Linked DNA regions of Homo sapiens: region 1 is linked to region 2. Evidence: promoter capture Hi-C in human tissues and cell types (Jung and others, 2019). All regions are on one chromosome and are shown on one strand. Each heading gives the region's core, a stretch centred on a gene start or on the middle of the fragment in contact. The rest is flanking DNA. Distances are from core to core; before and after follow the strand shown.

Evidence for each region. Contacts are between HindIII fragments. The study calls those that stand out against the background at their distance.
Region 1: a contact is called between a fragment that was not itself captured here and the fragment with the promoter of C15orf61 in region 2, in 2 of the 25 tissues and cell types used here (liver and small bowel).

Annotation. Positions count from the first base shown.
Region 1 is chr15:67,581,861-67,584,560 of GRCh38, forward strand. The region is part of intron 4 of MAP2K5 (mitogen-activated protein kinase kinase 5); the gene reads left to right. Among named protein-coding and RNA genes, the nearest start is that of MAP2K5, 41 kb to the left of the region's middle. The HindIII fragment of the contact is 7,822 bases long and covers 1-2,700 here.
Region 2 is chr15:67,519,849-67,522,548 of GRCh38, forward strand. C15orf61 (chromosome 15 open reading frame 61) reads left to right here and starts at 1,283. Exons shown (of 2, transcript NM_001143936.2): 1 at 1,283-1,746. The coding sequence starts at 1,401. IQCH-AS1 (IQCH antisense RNA 1) reads right to left here and starts at 1,996. Exons shown (of 6, transcript NR_040052.1): 1 at 1,671-1,996. RefSeq lists enhancers at 870-949, 1,590-1,709 and a silencer at 1,130-1,479. The HindIII fragment of the contact is 11,118 bases long and covers 1-2,700 here.

The DNA.
Region 1 (2,700 bases), core at 98-2,597, 62 kb after region 2:
AGGAGTGCTTAGTATATTACTAGTAACTTATTGAAGTGCTAAGTAAGTACAGTTGGGCTATTTAAGGCCAGTGATAGTCCAAAACAAGGATTGTGATTAATCCACTTCTGTTGTACTTGAAGATTAAGCACCAAAACAGAAAAAAAGAAATGTTGCTATTTCTGTTTATTAGTCCAATGATTAGGATGTAGATGATTTCTTTTTTTTTTTTTTTTTTTTCGAGACAGAGTCTCGCTCTGCCACCAGGCTGGAGTGCAGTGGTGCAATCTCAGCTCACCGCAACCTCTGACTCCCTGGTTCAAGTGATTCTCCTGCCTCAGCCTCCTGAGTAGCTGGGATTACAGGCTCGTGTCACCACACCCAGCTAATTTTTGTATTTTTAGCAGAGACAGGGTTTTACCATGTTGGCCAGGATGGTCTTGATCTCCTGACCTCATGATCCACTCCCCTCGGCCTCCCAAAGTGCTGGGATTACAGGCGTGAGCCACCACGCCCAGCCAGGAGGCAGATTATTTCTTAATGTTTGCAGTGACTGGAGAATTTGGGCAAGTTTCAAAATTCTTTCTTCACAAGGAGTAGTATTTTACAAACTGAAAATTTCCATTAATTTCTCTATTGACATTATAGCTCTGCCATAGAAAACCCTAATTGCAGTATCCTGGAGAAATATACTTCCAGGCAGGGCACAGTGGTTCATGCCTGTAATCTCAGCACTTTGGGAAGCTGAGGCAGGTGGATTGCTTGAGCTCAAGAGTTTGAGACCAGCTTGGGCAACATGTCAAAACCCTGTCTCTACCAAAAAAATACAAAAATTAGCCGGGCGTGGTGCACACTCCTGTTGTCCCAGCTACTTGGTGGGCTGAGGTGGGAGGATGGCTTGAGCCCAAGAGGTTGAGGCTACAGTGAGCCATGTTTGTGCCACTGTACTCCAGCCTGAGTGACAGAGCAATACATTGTCTCAAAACACACACACACACACACACACACACACACACTTCCAATGTTGTGGGTCTTCATTTGTCTCTAAAAAATTTTTTTTAGTTATCTTCATCCAAATTCTTTCAAGTTTTGTTTGTTTTCTTTCCTTTTGTGAGCAGTCCTGTCATTCTCACTGTTCATCGCATTATGCTTCTTCCCATGATAATCACAACCATTTTTAGATGTCTGCTCTGTTAAGGCATTAATATTGCTTTACGCATCATCATCTGTAATCCTCCTGATAGTTCTGCCTATTAGGTATTACTGTTTCCAATTTATAGATGAGAATATTGAGATTCAGAGAGGTTAAGTAACTTCAGAGTCACACAGCTTATAAGTGCTTACTATGCCCTTTGAGTAAGAATTTCATTTAAATTATAATATGATTAAAATGGAAAGGCATATATATTAAAATATAATTAGAGTGTGCATGGGAGTAGTTTGGAGGGCTTGTTTTGGAGTGGAGAGGAGTATGTTATGGGGAGAGGATACTTAAAGGAGGAAATTATATGAGATGTCATTGTCATATGTAGTCTTAGCATAAAACCCACTAGGCTGCAATAAATTGTTAAACATAGTCTTTCTAAGCCAAATTTAAATATTTCAGAATATGAGACTGTCTTTTTATTTCTGTGTTTTTTTAATATGCTATGGTGTAATTGTTTCTAGTTTTTGGTAGTCTTTTGCTTTTTGCTACCTGTCTACATCGAATGTACATTTTATCATATGTAGATAAGTGAAATTATGCAAATTTACATAATCGACATGTAGACATACTGGGTATATTTCCTGTGTCTACCTAGTTGGTTAGAGGCCCTCAGATCTTAAATTTTATGGTTAGGCCCCATGTTAAAAAGAATCTTTAGACTGAACAAGTAGGAAGGATAGGAGAAAATGATTGTTTCCTTATTTATTTATTTATTTATTTATTTTGGAGACAGAGTCTCACTCTATCACCCAGGCTGGAGTGCAGTGTGTGCTCACTGCAGCCTTTATGTCCCCAGGCTGGAGCAGTTCTCTCGCCTCAGCTCCTGAGTAGCTGGGGCTACAGGCATGTGCCACCACGCTGGGCATTTTTTTTTAATTTTTTAATAGCGACAAGGTATCACAGTGTTGCCCAGGCTGGTGTCAAACTCCTGAGCTCAAGCAATCCTCCCACCACCACTTCTCCAAGTGCTGGGATGAAAGGCATGAGCCACCATGCCTGGCCATAATTCTGATGTAATAACATGTTCTCCTCATTCCAAGTAGCACAGTTGCCTTGGATAGTAACTCCCAGGTCATGGCTAAGTCCTCTACATTGTTAAAAGATATGTTAAATATTAATAAGTGTGAACATTGACTAGCTTTATAGTAATTCCTGACCCGATAACTTTAGGAAATATGAGGTTACTGGGTTTTTTGACTGCTGTTTACATCTCCAGTTATAAAAGTTTGAGAAGTCAATTGAGGAGTGAGGCAGATGTTAAGGTTAGAGATAAGAGTTGATGTTTGTCTCTGATTCCTTGGCTAGCCACTTTGTTTAAATGAAATTTATGAATGCACTGCTTACTTCAGTGGAAATATTTTGAAGTGTTGTCTTAGGAAGTATTGATGGTCCCTCAAGGACCAGACGTCAAATGCATGTGACTGTAGTTCAAAAGGTTAATTTCCATTTTAAGGAAAGAAGATTTTGAGTCTTAATTTTAATGCATTTTAGAAAGGCAAGTAAAAACATTTTGT
Region 2 (2,700 bases), core at 33-2,532:
TCTAAAAAAAAGAAAAGAAAAAGAAATTCTATAAAGTTCAAGTTCTATAAGGTAAAGTTCAACTTCAAATTCTGTAAGGTAAAGTTCAAGATTCGGCATATGTTGGTGGGTGCTCAATGTTCAATAAAAACTGGGGAATAGGCCTGGTGCAGTGGCTCACGCCTGTAATCCCAGCACTTTGGGAGGCCGAGGCAGGTGGATCACGAGGTCATGAGTTTGAGACCAGCCTGGCCAACATGGTGAAACCCCGTCTCTATTAAAAATACAAAAATTAGCCAGGCGTGGTGGTGCACGCCTGTAATCCCAGCCACTCGGGAGGCTGAGGCAGGAAAATCACTTGAACCTGGGAGGCAGAGGTTGCAGTGAGCTGAGATTGCACCACTGCACTCCAGCCTGGGCAACAGAGTGAGACTCCGTCTCAAAAAAACAAAACAAAACAAAACAAAAAACTGGGGAATATAAAATTTCGCCATACTATCCTACATCCCCCTTGAGTTTTTAGCAACGATAGTAATTGTTATATGATGCTTAACGCGTAATTACTGTACCTCATTTACATAAGGTGGTTTCAGACACATCATCTTGTTTATGTATGGCCTCTCCAAACAAAATGAGTTTAGGACAAAAGAGGAAATCCTTTTCTAAAAGCAGTTTTGTCCGTAAGTTACTGCCTCAAGAGGCCGCAAAGTTTGAGCAAAGCTTTTCCGAAAGTAATGGATTGGTAATGGGTGACTGAGGTCCACAAAGCTCGATAAGAGGCTCCTGGTCCGTCTACCAGGTTCTTAGAGGGAGGTGCCTTTGTGTGTTCGGACGCTGCACTGAGACACGTGAGGTTTTTAAATAAACTTTTGATTTTGAAATCTCTGGGACTAATTTTAAACAGTGAACCCGACAGCGAGGACCTACACACAAAAGTGCTCCCGGCCTTACCAAACAACGCAGACCCGGGGTCACGCCTCGTCCTGTTTCAACAACAACACCCAAGGGCTTCCCTGGAGCCCAGGGCGTGGGAGGGAGACTTGGGTTTGAGTTCTGCACCTTGCGGAGGTGGTTAGTTATTTAATTGTCTTCCACCTGAATTTTCCTCAGGCCCAAATTGATGAGACCTCCCCGAATCCCTCCCCTGCCCGAGTTACTAATGACGGCGTGAGGTCACACCTGGCCACTCAAAACCAGCTCCTTGACGCAGGTGACCCTCCGCCTCGCGCAGCTCACGCTTCCCATCCCCCGGACTCCACCCCCAGCGGGAGGCCACGGGGCCGCTGTGCGCACGCGCCGCCGCACACCGGGGGCTCTCGGGCACCCGCGCGGCGCCGGTTGGCCTTCCCGGCGCTCGCCCGGGGGCGCGCTTGCGCGCCAGCGGCTGCGGACACCAGCCTGCGTCCCCGGCGCGGCGGGCCATGGAGGCCCTGAGGAGGGCCCACGAGGTCGCGCTCCGCCTGCTGCTGTGTAGGCCGTGGGCCTCGCGCGCCGCCGCCCGCCCCAAGCCCAGCGCCTCGGAGGTGCTGACGCGGCATCTGCTGCAGCGGCGCCTGCCGCACTGGACCTCCTTCTGCGTGCCCTACAGCGCCGTCCGCAACGACCAGTTCGGCCTCTCGCACTTCAACTGGCCGGTGCAGGGCGCCAACTACCACGTCCTGCGCACCGGCTGCTTCCCCTTCATCAAGTACCACTGCTCCAAGGCTCCCTGGCAGGACCTGGCCCGGCAGAACCGCTTCTTCACGGCGCTCAAGGTCGTCAACCTCGGTGAGTGGCGACTGCCGCGCCCACGCGGTGAAGCCCGCCCGGCCGGGACGGCCCCTCAGCCACCGAGCACGTGACGAACGCTCGCAGGCCGGTAGAGTCCCGCGGGAGTCAGCTCTGCCTCCCGGCGCCGGCTTCGCCTGGGGTCCTTTGTACTCCTCGCCCAGGGGGTCCCCAGCTTGCTGAGCTCCTGGCACCCGAAGCCGTTCGCCTGCTGCGGGCGCGTCCTCGGGCCTAGGGAGGGGCGGGTCGCCCTCCTGTCCTGCCCATGTTAACCAGAGTAGACCCCTGGCCTGGGCAGTAAGCCAGGGGGCGTCAGGAAACGCCCCCTAGAAAGTGGCTCTGAAGTTGACATCCGTCCTACTGCATGGCAGGACTCATTCCCGTGAACATCACTTTGCAGCTGCGTTTATGTTGCAATAACTGGAACTACTCTTTTAAGTTTCTTTTGTTTTCTTTGTATGAATTCCCGGCAAGTTCGTTTTACTAAAAGCACCAAAGGTTTTCACCAGACATAACAGCTTCCTGAGGTGCTAGGCCTAAAAGATTTTTAAAGATCTTTAATATTTGTATATTTTCATGGAGACGCCCTGAGGATGTTTACTGTCACTAGGTGTTTATTTTCTTTTGGTTTAATGACAGAAGAGGGAGGTACGAACATGGACATGGGTGTATCTTTTATAGGTCAGGGGAAAACAGAAGGCCTCAAGATGTTTTGAACTTACTAATAGCTGGCATAAAATCAATCTAGATTTCAGTGATTCAAAATCTAGCCATGGAGCTGAATGAACCATGTTACCCAGCCAGGTTTTTAAAGCCAGGATTAAAACTAAACCCTGCGCAGCCGTACTACTAATACTATTACATAATCTGATCGTCCATTAAGGTTAAAAATAGTCTGTGTATTTGTGCTTATAATAACACATATGTCAGTCGTGGGCTTTTTGAGCCGTTACT